3 separate regions of the Homo sapiens genome follow, and all the other regions are linked to region 2. Evidence: promoter capture Hi-C in human tissues and cell types (Jung and others, 2019). All regions are on one chromosome and are shown on one strand. The core of a region is centred on a gene start or on the middle of the fragment in contact, and the rest is flanking DNA. Distances in the headings are between cores, read along the strand shown.

Evidence for each region. Contacts are between HindIII fragments. The study calls those that stand out against the background at their distance.
Region 1: a contact is called between a fragment that was not itself captured here and the fragment with the promoter of RGS6 in region 2, in 1 of the 25 tissues and cell types used here (lymphoblastoid cells).
Region 3: a contact is called between a fragment that was not itself captured here and the fragment with the promoter of RGS6 in region 2, in 3 of the 25 tissues and cell types used here (dorsolateral prefrontal cortex, heart left ventricle and lymphoblastoid cells).

Annotation. Positions count from the first base shown.
Region 1 is chr14:72,270,574-72,275,533 of GRCh38, forward strand. All of the region lies in intron 2 of RGS6 (regulator of G protein signaling 6), which reads left to right. Among named protein-coding and RNA genes, the nearest start is that of MIR7843, 240 kb to the right of the region's middle. The HindIII fragment of the contact is 3,019 bases long and covers 1,890-4,908 here.
Region 2 is chr14:71,930,828-71,935,504 of GRCh38, forward strand. It overlaps RGS6 (regulator of G protein signaling 6), which reads left to right and starts at 1,602. Exons shown (of 18, transcript NM_001204424.2): 1 at 1,602-2,114. It overlaps LOC124903404 (translation initiation factor IF-2-like), which reads left to right and starts at 1,099. Exons shown (of 2, transcript XM_047432046.1): 1 at 1,099-1,198; 2 at 1,342-2,063. The coding sequence starts at 1,099. The coding sequence ends at 2,063. RefSeq lists silencers at 1,391-1,670, 1,691-1,850. The HindIII fragment of the contact is 19,590 bases long and covers 1-4,677 here.
Region 3 is chr14:72,315,397-72,319,820 of GRCh38, forward strand. The region is part of intron 2 of RGS6 (regulator of G protein signaling 6); the gene reads left to right. Among named protein-coding and RNA genes, the nearest start is that of MIR7843, 200 kb to the right of the region's middle. The HindIII fragment of the contact is 7,199 bases long and covers 1-4,424 here.

The DNA.
Region 1 (4,960 bases), core at 2,149-4,648, 340 kb after region 2:
TCTTGTGCCAGGCTTTCAGAGAAAGAGAATAAATTATGCTGCTGTGACAAGCTGTTCCACTGTGGCAACAATAGTTTGGACTTCCAGTGCTGCCTGTCAACCAGGACTGAAAATACATCTTCATTTGTTGCTGGGCAGCTGGGAAGATGAGTCATTAAAGAATTTTATAATACATCAAAGGCCATGATTTTCTACCTTTCACGCAGTTACACCTTTTCCCAAGTCCTCATTCTGCCACAAAAAACTTTTGAATGCACCGAAAGTTAAGTAGAATTCCTTTTAAAATGTTCTGTTCTGTGCACATATCTCTAGGGGAAGTGCAGAAGACATGGGGCATTCCCTTTTGTCATGCATTTCAGCTCCATAAAGATTTATTGACCACCTACTATATGCCAAGCATTATGTTAGTCAGTGGGGTTAAAAAGATGAGCAAATTGTGGTCTTGAAACCCATGCCTTTTGTTCAGATTATTACAGTGCAAGAGAAGCAGCATCAGCCATGTGTCTGAGAGGCCAGAGGAAGGAGAGAGTGAGGAAATATTGTACCTCATTAATATTGTTCCTCTCGTTTCACCACTGTATTAATCTGTTCTCATGCTGCCAATAAAGACATACCCAAGACTGGGTAATTTATAAAGGAAAGAGGTTTAATGGACTCTCAGTTCCACATGGCTGGGGAGGCCTCACAATCATGGCAGAAGTTGAGAGAAAAGCAAAGGGACGTCTTACATGGTGGCAGGCAAGAGAGCTTGTGCAGGGGAACTCCCATTTATAAAACCATCAGCTCTCATGAGACTTATTCGCTACCATGAGAACAGTATGGGGAAAACCACCCCCATGATTAACTTACCTCCCACTGAGTCCCTCCACGACACATGGGAATTATGGGAGCTACAATTCAAGATGAGATTTGGGTGGGCACACAGCCAAACCATATCAACCACTGTAGACATGACCAAGTTCAGACTTGGTCAGTAGTCAAATGAGCCTGTGAGAGAATGGTGCCACATCTTTCCTGTAAGAGCACAGCATTTTAACCTGCGATGGATTTGTGAGCAGTCATTCCAACTCTGTATTAGTTTTCTACAGTTGCTGTAACAAATTACCACAAGCTTAATGGCTTAAAACCATGTAAATATATTATCCCACAGTTCTGAAGTCAGAAATCTGAAATAGATAGGCTAAAAGCAAGGGGTGACAGGCTGCATTCCTTTCTGGAGGCTCTAGGGGAGAATCTGTTTCCTTGCCTTTTCCAACTTCTAGAGGCCGCTGGCATTCCTTGGCTCTTTGCCCCTTCCCTTCTTCAAAGCCAGCAGCAGTAGTTGAGTCCTCCTTAACACAGCATCACTTTTTTTTTTTTTTTTTGCCTTCTTCTTCCACTTTTAAGGACTCTGTGATGGCACTGGGGCCACTGGGATAATCGAGGATAATCTTCCTATTTTAAGAACAGCCAATTGACAACCTTAATTCTAAGCAATCTTAATTCCCTTTTGCCATGTAGCTGAACATATCCAAGTTCTGGGGATTAGGATGTGGATGTATTGGGGTGGGGAAATTATTCTTCCTACCACCAACCCTCATCCATCTCTAAAGGCACTGATTTTTTTGATAAATCAGATAAGTACCAGAGATGTGTACTCTGGGCTCAGGAGTGAAGAGGGTTAGCTGGCCTTTGCCAACAGTGACTTCATATCACCATACTCAATGCAATTGAGGTGACTTAATCAAGGGGAAAAGATGGACAGCATGTTTTATGGAAATAGCACTTGCCTGGTAATCAGGAGACTTGGATTTTAGCTTCTCTCCTTCAAACAGACTACTGAGTGTCAGTAGGCAAGTTGTTGAACTGCTCTGGGCCTCTGTAAAAAATCAAGGTTGTGGTTAGATGTTCTCAAATCCTCTTTCATCCTCTAGCCTTCCATGGCTCTCAATTTCTACAGGGAATGTACTGGAAATGGAGAGAGGCTAGCCTGTGGAAAATGCAGTGCCATTATTTCAGCATCAAAATCCTGAAATAAGATACAGAATGTTGTGTAATATACAGCTCGGTGTCTGTGCCCTTTTATTTCTCTCTTGGGCCCAGCCCCATCATCCTGTCCTTGATCATTGTAATGCAGTGTTCACTACCAGTCTTTTCTCCCCCTACATTGGAAATTATGCCAAAAGAGTAATGAATGAATTAGGTAAATGAATTAGATGAATTAGAGATAAAATTATGGCTCTACAGTTGAAATATCAGCTTTAAGAGAATCGACTTGGAGACCAGGTGCAATGGCTCACGCCTGTAATCCCAACACTTAGGGAGGCCAAGGCGGGTGGATCACCTGATGTCAGGAATTTGAGACCAGCCTGGCCAACATGGCAAAACCCCATCTCTACTAAAAATACAAAAAATTAGCAGGGCGTGGTGGCAGGTGCCTGTAATCCCAGCTACTTGGGAAGCTGAGGCGGGAGAATCTCTTGAACCTGGGAAGCTGAGGTTGCAGTGAGTGGAGGTTGCAGTGAGCTGAGGCCGTGCCATTGCACTCCAGCCTCGGCTACAAGGGCAAAACTCCATCTCAAAAAAAAAAAGAAAGAAAGAAAATTGACTTGGAGATGTACGGGTTCACATATAATTGAAAGTGAGCATTCCACAGTGACTTGAGAAAGTTGATTCCGGCTTTCAAAGCTTGCATTATGGGTAAGAAACTTGAGCCTAAAAAGAACTTATATGTATGTGGGTCATTAGACAATCTCCTCCCTCACCACCTTTTTTTTTCTTTAATCAAAGAATTATACATATGCAAGTAACTGAATCACCTCTTCTTTCATTTTTTTCCCTCTTTAATCACAGCTGTGTGGAAAGTTTCCAGCTAGGCATTAAATTGGGTCAACAGCTAACACAGCATAAGTGTGGACAGCAGGGGCAATCGGTGGTATATACATAGGAAATAAACGACACTGTGCTGCTGGCATTGATAAGCTGTTGAATAGTGCAAGGGCCCTATTAAGATTTAAAGTAATAAAAGATGGGAGGAAATATGGTTACCAGCAGCTGATAAACATTCTTGCCTTATGAAGGCATTAGTTTCACTTAATGGCTTCTAGTGCCTGGAGTATAAGCTCTTGTAATTTTTCTCCCCCAGAGCAGACTGAAAGAATACCTAGGAATTGTCATCTTTGTAGTTGCTCAAGAAAGATCTTTGGGTGGCTGTGAGCAGATCTGAAAATAGTAAGTATGGCAGGTACATGGAGCTGCATCCGTTTGCAAAAGCTATCAATAAAGAAAGGTATAGAAAGGATGCCCTTGACCCCGGTATGTGCAGATAGAAGTGGAATTTCCTCCGGAATGTGCATGCAAATGTGCCTAGCTGCAAAAGAAGAGGCATTCCCTGCTCAGGTGTGTAGAGTGATTTAGAACCATTTGTTTCTGCTCAATGGTTCTCAAATGAACAGTATTTCCTCACTAGGAAACAGTGCTAATTCCAGGCTAGGACGGTCCACAGAGATGGTGGCTGTGCCCAGATCATTCTTGGAAATCTGAGGAAGGGAGTCATTTCTTCTCATGCCACACCCAGTAAGGGGTACATTAGATACTCTATTTCCTCCAGGCAGATCTACAGTGACCAGGACCACGTACTAGGATAGGAGAGGTTCTGGCACTATTCATCATTGGCTCCGGAAATAGCTTTCCCCTCTGAGCTCAAAGGTAGGCTCATCCTCTGCTAGAGTCTATTAGGTCTGGTGGGATTGGAACTCAGGTGCATACCCCTGGGCTCTCCAACCACTAGTGCTGCATCCAGGGCTTGGGGTCCTGCTTTGTGCCATCAGGTCATCAGTGACATGACTAGGGCAGCTCAACCCGCACCTCTGGCATCACTGCCTTCCTCCCATGGCCCCCTAGCATGAACCCAAAGACCACAGGGCCGGTTCCCTCCTTCAGGCCCAAGGCTGGGCCTCCAAATAATGGCCTCCCAAAGATGCCCACATTCACATGCCCAGAACCTGTGCATATGTTACCTTATGTGGCAAAAGAGACTTTGAAAATGTGAGTGAATTACAATATGGAGATTGGCCTGGGTTATCTGGGTGGACTCAAAGTAATCAATAAGAGGGTGACAGGAGGGTCAGAGTCAGAGAAGAAGTTGTAATGATAGAGGCAGGGAGCCATGAACCAAACAGTGTAGACAGCCTCTAGAGACTAGACCAAGCAAGGAAGTGGATTCTCTCCCAGGGACTTCAGAAGGACCTCACCCCTGCCAACTCATCCGAGGACTTCTGACCTCCAAAAGTATAAAATAATACATTTGTGCTGCTTTAAGTCACTGAGTTTGTGATAATTTGTTATAACAGCAGACAGAAACTAATACAGTTTATCTTATTCCTTTACTCATGATCAACTACTTTGGGGTTAACGAACAACAGTATATTTACTTCCTTCAATGAAACACTTACCTCCACCCACCAGAGTGAAAGTTTGTCACCCTGGTTCCAACAAATGCCACAAACCACTGTATGATCATCTTTGGGTAGGTCAGCTTGTCTGCTATGGTATTTTTCTTTTATATTGCAGTTTACAAAGTGCTCATTTGTCTTGTATGATAGTTATATATGGAAGGTAGCATTACTATTTCACTTTTCTGATTTTCTAAAAAATATCTTTAATGAACACATATTAATTTTGTGATTAAATGACACAATAATTAGAAATGTTAAAAGGAGATGGCAGTTTTAGTCACTTAATAACCATAATACTAACAAATTCAGGCCACATGCTATCTCAGTGGATAGTCCCCAGAACCAAGTTAGGCTAGTTCATGAGGCATTTCAGATAGCTGAAGGGACTAAGTATACACTGGAAGATTGGGTACGAAGATCAAAAGACAGCTCTACAACAAAGCTTCATGGGCCATTGGTTTCACAGTAGGGGGAACTGAAATCCAGGCTACAGATTCAAAAGCTTACAACCTGGCAATTTATGT
Region 2 (4,677 bases), core at 352-2,851:
CACAAAAAATTAGCTGGCAGGCACCTGTAATCCCAGCTACTTGGGAGGCTGAGGCAGGAGAATCGCTTGAACCTGGGAGGCGGAGGTTGCAGTGAGCGAAGATTGCACCACCACACTCCAGCCTGGGCAACAAGAAGGAAACTACGTCTCAAAAAAAAAAAAAAAAAAAAAAAAAAAAAAAAAAAAAAAAGCAGAGCTCCTCAAAGCGGAAGTTTCCCTAGTTGCTACCTTTCGCTCCATGTACAGCCTATTCTTTAACTGTGACAAACGGCCACAGCCAGCTCCACAACCGGCTTGAGCCAAGTATTGAGCCTGAGGAAAGAAAGATTTTATATTTCAGCTTTAATAAACAACTGGGACATCTGTTACAATTCTATTTTCCTCACTAGGCTGGGTATGGTTTCTCTTGGTTGCAGGTTTCCCCCCACCCCCCGCCTTTCTGTGTACTAAGCCTACCATAACACACATGTCTGCTTGTGTGTTATCCCATTCGACGTGAAGGCTTCAGGGCAGAGACTGCTTCCTTTATTATCCATTTCTAATGTTAGAAGAGGGTCTAACACAGAGCAGGTGCTATTTGTCTATTGAAGGAAAGAATGAATACATCCATTAATCAATGTAGAATGGCGGGAAAAGACACAATTTGGGAAGGAGACTTTACTCTTTAACTTCTGGACCCATGTGAATGAGGAGTCCAGGTCATCCATCGTTAAAGGCATTTAGGTATTTTATTTCAAGTATTTTTCCCCTTTTCTGGTGACATACTACAATTCAGGACTAAATCTCAAATTTATTCTTGATATTGATAGCATTGATATTGCACACAAATCCCACGGTTACCGTCCAGCACTAGTGATCTTGTCCTATTTCCACCTGCAGCTTTTTGAATCTAAGTACACATCGCATTTCAAAACTCCCACGTTAAAGAAAGGCATCAGTTCAAGTTACTTTCTCATTTTCTGTCTTCGACTTTTTTCTGCTTCCCCCAAGAATATCTGAGAGTTACTTTTCTCGAAAGTTCTTTTGTAGTGTTCCAGATAGGAATCATCCTGTAATATTCCAAATGCAGCGTGTGGTGTGCATGTTGAATACATAAAAATGACGAGGTTAGGAACAATATCGCTGACGGTCGCGGTGTCCCGTTTTAATTTAGAGGGCGCCAGCAACACGTCAGTGAGGGAGATTCAGAAGCCGCCGGGCACCTCACCCCGGGCCGGGAATCCCTAAGAGAACCTTGACGCCGCTGAAGTTTCCGGACCGGGCCAGTTTGGAATTGACGAAAGCAGCCTCCGCCCGGTCGAGCCAGTCTCTCGGTTTTCTCGGCGGCTTCTTGAGGATGAGGCATTTCTAGGTTTTCTCCTCCTCGAGCAAATCACGGTCTGCGCCTTCCGCGGCTCTGGGAACAGGTGAGCCGTGCGGCGGCGCCCGCGGGACGCGCTCAGGTGCCGGTCCCCGCCCGCCGGCCCCTCCCTGCAGCACGCGGTCCGGGCCCAGGTGCCGGGGCCCAGGTGCCGGCGCCCAGGTGCGCGGGGCACGGGGCTGCAGCTCCGCTCGGCATCCGACAGCGGGCGCCGCTGCAGCAGCTCGCGGGCCGCGGAGCTGAACGGCTTCGCGAGTTGGGGCAGCTCCTCGCGCTCGGCCCTGCTCGGCGGCGAGAGCTCCGCCTGGGCGCCGCGTTCCTACAGCCGCCGGAGCCGCCAGGCGCCGAGGGAACGGACAGACCTCCGCGCACCCTTGCCGACCGGGGCGGGCAGAGGCGGGCAAGCGGCGAACGCCTGGGAGCGCGGAGAGCCAGGCCAGCCCGGAGCGCGCCGGGGACACCCTGTGCGCCCCGAGTCCCGGCACCATGCGACCCGCCGCGCGTCCTCGCGGGCCCGGGGCTTCGCTCTTCGCTCGCTGAGCCCCTGCGCTCGCCACCACGGAAACTCGGAAAGAGGAGGCGAGGCTGTGGGGAGCGGCGCGGAGACGGACTAGACTTCCCCTCCGCCCCCAAGAGGCTGCCGGTCCCCGGTTCCCTGGGCTTCTCCAGCTTTATCATGAACCTGGCGCAAGGTTGGCTTTAGGAAAAATTCTGGAGCCAGAGGGAGAGTCAAGGCAATTCTTTGGTTGCTAAGGTAATTGTAGTTGTGATAAAAAATGGGCAAGAAACAAATGGGGGAAAAACATGGTTTAAAACAGTATCCTCCCTCCCCACCCCATTAATATGTGTTGATTTCATCTCCTGGGTGTGGGTGCTTGTCCATTTCAGATGCGTGACAGGTGCCCGTGTGTGTGTGTCTGCAGTTTGGGACTGTGGAAGCACGAGCTTACATAAGTGGTTAGGCAAGCTGGCGTGTGGACTTGTGTGGGATGGGTGCAGGTCTGCATATAAATCATGTTCCTGGGTTTCTGGGTGTGAAGCGCACACCGACGGGGACGAGAGCGCAGAGGATGGCGCTTTTAGATACTTCCAGTCTTCCGATGTTGTGATCGCAGGTAGGGCAGCTTTGCCTCTAATCAGGCGTTCATTAACTTTTTCCCTGAACAAGCTCGCCCATTTGTGGTTTGGAAGAAAAGAAAGCGAGTCTCCGCGGTGAGGTGTGGAGGGCAGGGGCGGGTGGGGAGGTTTGTTGTTTGGGAACTGCGCTAGCAAAGGAAGCGGTGGCTATTCGCTTGGAGAGGATGACAAATGAACTGGTTGCGTGAGGAGTGAAGAGACCGTGTTTACAGTCACCAGCAGGCTGCGTAAAGAAGTGGCCCAGTGAGACAGGGAAAGTGACCCAGAAAATTTAGTTTTGTTCAGAATGAAAGCTGCTGTATTTCATTTTTGTTTCTTAATTTGACGGAGTAGGAACGTTATTTTCCTTCTCTGTCATTGAGACCAGTAGCATTTCTATGTTACAAACTGAAGATATTTGGGGTCTCGTCGGCTTGGGATTATCAATGCTTGGGAGGTGAGTTCTGATCAATACCTTTAACAACCCCAAAGAAAAACGCAAAAATAATCAAGTTTAGGTAAAACTTCCACTGGACTTTCTTTCCAGGGAGGGTGAGAGATGGAAGAACTGGGCTTGTAAGTATCAAAATGGAGTTAGAGAATGAGCTACAAGTTTGTGTGTGTATGGTCTGTCAAAAAGTGTTAAGACTGAAAGGAAACTGTTAGGTTTAGTTAAATGTGTTGACAACACGGCTCTTACATATCAATTTTCATAGGCAAATAGGTAATTACATAGAGTGGGAACTGGGACTATGGTGGGAAACTTTCTGTAAGATGTATATTCTTTATTCTTAATTTATCACTTTTTCAATGGGTGGGACTACTCTGTGAAGGAAAGTAGAGGGCTGAGGGACATTTGGTGAGACTCTTGAGAGAGAAACCTTTGCAAGCCAAATCTCGCATGCTATAGATGATAAATTCTAAGTTCTTTGATATTGTACCACTCTTAAGCTAAATTGTCCTGTAAATATGATCTCATGCACCATAAACTATATATATGTAGAGAGAGTCTATTCCCAATAACTCATCCTTTCCTGAAAGAGTCTGCAAGTTCTATAAATGTCAGCTGTTGGGAGGTATTGTGATGAAGGAGAGAGGCCACCAGTGTTTCCTTTTATATATTTATTCTGGCAGATCTTAACTTTACTTCTGATTTTCTTTAAGGAATTTCAGTTAACATTCACTGAATTTATATTGCTGAGAGTTTCAGTAAAACAAGACTAGATTTTCTTTGAAGCAATAAATTCATCTTATCAAGTGAAACATTATGACAATGCTTTTGTGGCAGAAATGTTTATTTAAATGAGTCCATTTTAATTATTTATTTATTTTTGACTTGCAGAATAAGATCTGCAACATAGATGTTTTTGAAGTAAGTAGACGTTTCTTGAGAAAGAAAAATAAATTTAGGTTACTGTGGACAATTTGCCAGTAATTTTGGATGTCTCTTTGTCTACAGGGACATAATTTTGTGTGAAAGTAGAATCATTCCATTTCTTATGTCTCTCATCTTCTCCCATGCATTTTATCCCCTGAACTCCTAAGACTTTGCCAGGAATTGCTGAACATTCTGTTTCGTGCCAGGGGTTAAATATCAGGGGATGGAATAAGGAGCTGTGTGTCACATAAACATTTTTCAAAAGGATGCTGTCAGAGATCTCAATACCGGGATTAATTTTTCCTTTAGCTTTGCAGTTAGCTTGTCTTAATTGGTATTGCTCTGAACCTAGGAATGCATTTAACCTCTTCATTTTCAGTTTCCAGCTGGAAGGAATATATTTACCAAATTTCATCTTCTTTGTAACATATGGCATGATATAAATAATTACTATACACACACTATCCTGCTGTAAGGAAAGAAATAGAATTACAAAATCAACTTTCGTGTTGAGTGATATGGATATAATATTTCAAAAAACAATTTTAACTTTTCCCCTGATTCCAAAAGTAATATTTAGCTATTGAAACAGTTCAGGAAAATACAAAGAAAAAAATAAAGGTTATCCATAATCTGCTAGGGAGAGGGAGCCACTGTTAACATATCTTTAACTGTATATTCTTCCAAATATTATTCTAGTCAATTATTTCTACCCAGTCCCCCTCCCCCACACATTTTTATAAATATAAAATATAGCTTGGAAATATAACTTGGAAATGTGTTAAAGGCTTGGGAATTTACTGCTTGTTTACAGAATGATTTT
Region 3 (4,424 bases), core at 1,897-4,396, 390 kb after region 2:
AGTAAATTGGAAGTATATAGCACCTGCTACATGTTTAGTCAGTAGTCGAAACATTGAATAAATCATGAAATCTGTAGGTGAACTGAATAATAGCTGCCCTGGAGAGAACTGTAATTCACTGTTGACAAAATAAATCCCCCTGCATTTTTCTGGGGAATCTTTTATTTTTAGCAAGAGTGTTTGATACTCCTAAGTTAATTAGTAGTTTTAACAGAGTGGAATGTTATTGAACCTACCAGTGTTGTTTAAGAGCTAATGTTTATGTGCCAGGCGCCAGATTAGGTAATTTTATAAGCATAGATCATTACATTCTCGCCCAGCCCTGTAGGGTTCCTAGCTCTGCTTTTCCAGATGAAGAGCCAAGACCCTTAGAGGTTGTAACTAGTCCAGAGCCACATGGGCTAGGAAGAAAGGAAGACCTTTCACCACTTATTTACACAAGTAAGTTCTTCCCAGGCAGTGTGGCAGACTCAGCAGATTGGCCCACTTAACTCTTGTTCCACCCCCACTCTATCTTGTCTACTTCTACCACAGAGGCCAGAAACCACAAATCCCCAGCCTCCTGTGGCTTGGCTTGGGGTAGCCCAAATACACAGTTCTGTCCAACCATGCATAGGCAGAATTCCCTGGGGAACATTTCTCTCTCCCCAAGTAGGTAAAGCTTCTTTGCCCTTTACCGTTTGTTGTTCCTTTTCTTCCTTCATGGAAAGAAGAGTCACTTTCAAGACATGCAGCAACCACCCTCTAACAATCAGAAGGAAATACATGGTTAAGATTGTTGAAACAAGAAGTAAAAGAAGTCAAGTTGCTTGACGATATTCTCTTTTGTCTTTTTATTTTTTTTATTTTTTAAATTATACTTTAAGTTCTAGGGTACATGTGCACAATGTGCAGGTTTGTTACATATGTATACATGTGCCATGTTGGTTTGCTGCACCCATTAATTCATCATTTACATTAGGTATTTCTCCTAATGCTATCCCTCCCCCATGCACCCACCCCACAACAGGCCCCAGTGTGTGATGTTCCCCACCCTGTGTCCAAGTGTTCTCATCATTCGTGTCCCACCTATGAGTGAGAACATGCGGTGTTTGGTTTTCTGTCCTTGTGATAGTTTGCTGAGAATGATGGTTTCCAGCTTCATCCATGTCCCTACAAACGGCATGAACTCATCCTTTTTTATGGCTGCATAGTATTCCATGGTGTATATGTGCCACATTTTCTTAATCCAGTCTATCATTGATGGACATTTGGGTTGGTTCCATGAGCTTGATGATATTCTCAAATAGATTCCCTAGCCCTAGGCTGCCTGCCATTGCATTCCTTATTACACAAGAATAATCATCTCTTATTGTATTCCAATCATTGATTGGCATTATTTTTTTTCTGCATAGCAAAATACATGGCCAAATCAGTAAACCTGAACTTCTCAAAGTGGCCATCTGGTAGCTACTAGCTTATAAACTGTTCCCTAGGTATAGAGAATTGAAAGCAGGTGAAGTGTGTGTGTGTGTGTGTGTGTGTGTGTGTGTGTGTGTGTATTTCACATATCACTCAGGTCAATGTTCCTTTGAAAATGGAGAATGCAACTCTATTAAGATAATAGTGTAAATTTGGTAACTGATCACTTACAGCAATTACAACAAAAGATGCAAAAGTCAGGCAGAACTGGGTTCTAATGCTGGCTGTAGCACTGGTTGGTTATGTGACCTTGAGCTCATTAGTTAGCCTTGCACACATTTCCTCATATATGATTGAGGATAAGAGTAGTTTTATCTCATAGAGATTTGAGGGGCATTTGGCACAGGATCAGGCACAAAGTAAGCACTCAGTGGTATTGCTGCCAATAATAATAACAATAATAATAATAATAGAATTATTTAAGACTTGCAGATTGAGGGAATTTGATGAAATATATAACAACTGAGGTTAAAGTGTTCTAATTTTCTGTCTAGATTCATCTTTTATGGTCCCTTTTTAATCTCACACCAGTGTCCTTCCAGAATTAAAAGGTCAATGATTTTACTTCCTAGAGAAGCTTCCTTAGGGGCTTATGAATGGTGAAAATGTGCACGTTTGCCTCGACTCTCTATTTCCATTGTCGAAGGCCTTCGCAAATTTACCTAGTGATTCTAGCCAAGTGCTTCCTGACATTCTTAGGGGCTCGAAGGTCAATACTTGATTTGGATTTTTTGTTGTTGTTTCTTTTTCCCTCCAGCCTCCTGTGTTGTGTTGATTTGTAAAATGGCCATTGTAAATGTTAAAATGGAAAGAAAACCGAGTCTGTTATAAGCTTTGATGTAGTAAAAACAGCATGGAGCATCTTAAATTTTAAGATGTCATCAGAAAAGAAGCTCTTCCCAGTTTCCTCTTGAAAATCATTGTATTAGTCAGGGTTCTCTAGAGGGACAGAACTAATAGGACAGATATATATAGAAAGGGGAGGTTATTAAGTAGTATTAACTTACACGATTACAAGGTCCCACAATAGGCTGTCTGCAAGCTGAGGGGCAAGGAAGCCAGTCCAAGTCCCAAACGATTTTATTTGACAAAAGACAAAAACAGAAGTTATTTACAATAGTTTTTGCTCAAATAATTCAGTGGGGGCAACTGTACTTTTCCTCCAGGTTTATCTTATAACCAAACCCAAGCAGAGGCTGCCCCACCCCAACACCCCATTTTACACAGCTGGGAATGCCAACCAGAATTCAGCAGCGTGGCTCCCTCACCCCTCACCACCCTCTATTGCTCAGTGTACAGTGGGGAGGGAAAGATCCCACCTCAGCCCAAGAACTTGGAGCTGAAGAACTTGGAATCTGATATTCAAGGGCAGGAAGCATCCAGCACAGTAGAAAGATGTAAGGTGGGAGGCTCAGCCAGTCTAGCCTTTTCACATTTTTCTCCCTGGTTTACATGCTGGCCATGCTGGCAGCTGATTTGATGGTGCCCACCCAGATTAAGGATGGGTCTGCCTTTCCCAGCTCACTGACTTGAACGTTAATCTCCTTTGGCCACACCCTCACAGACACACCCAAGATCAATAATTTGCACCCTCCAATCCAATCAAGTTGACACTCAGTATTAGCCCTCACAATCATAAAACAGAAAAATGAGTGAAAAGCATAAATTTTGCTTTCAAAAAGCTGGGAGATTCTATATCCATGAACCACAATATATGACGTAAGGCTGGCCAAATGCAGTGGAACGAAAGCTCAGGAAGGGCTAAGAGACAATCACTATGATCAGGTTATAGATTTTGACAAAGCAAGCAAAAAACACGTCTCCAAAACTGGTACTTCAGAGCAGGCATACCCTAAAGGATGACGCCAATAAGCCTTTGTTTGGAAAATGGCAAGGGTATTGCAAGACTGGAAGTAGAAAACCTCCCTGGACCCTACCTGCTACCATGTAGTAGCAAATGAAACTGAAAGGGAAATGCACAGTCATCCTGTGTGTATAGGAAGCAGTCCATTGTTGTGGCACTACGGCAGCCTGTTGGCCGAGAAGAAGCAGTGGCTAAAATAACTCATCAGCACACAACCCTTTGTAATAAGACTTAACAGTAAATCAGGTAAATTTTTACCAACTCACAACATCCTGACTCCTATCCCACAAAACTGTCCTCTAAATATCTGAATCAAGAAGTTTCCACATTCAGAGGAAAGTAACAATAAAAAGGAACCAGCACAGGATATTGTAATATGCCATACATGACACTACAAAGATATTATAATATAAAAGGAGAAAAAACTGGAAAATAGATGGTAAATGCAGAACACTCACTATAGGTGATTCCAACAGACAAATCAAAAGATAACATTACCATGATCTTGACGACTTAAAGAAACCACCAAAGAGCTCAAAACAGAAATAAAGAGGTCAGGGGTAATATGGTGACGTGAGAAGAGAAGAAACATACACTGATGTAGCTCTCCAGAGAACTGAAGGGGGAAATTTTTTTTTTTTTTTTTGAGACGGAGTCTCGCCCTGTTGCCCAGGCTGGAGTGCAGTGACGTGATCTCGGCTCACTGCAACCTCCACCTCCCGGGTTCACGCCATTCTCCTGCCTCAGCCTCCCAAGTAGCTGGGACTACAGGGGCACCCACCACCATGCCCGGCTAATTTTTTTGTATTTTTTAGTAGAGATGGGGTTTTACTATGGTCTCGATCTCCTGACCTCATGATCTGCCTGCCTCAGCCTCCCAAAGTTCTGGGATTACAGGCGTGAGCCACCGCACCCGGCCTGAAGGGGGAAAATCATCACAGATATGAAGATGATTTTGAAGCAGCCAAAGTAAAATAGACACTAGACACTGCCGAACATAGAATAGAGGATATGATGGGCAGGATTATCAAAGCAAACAAAACGGAAACAACAGCTTAAAAGTATTAGAAAGAAAATAGTATATTTGGGTGACGAGGAA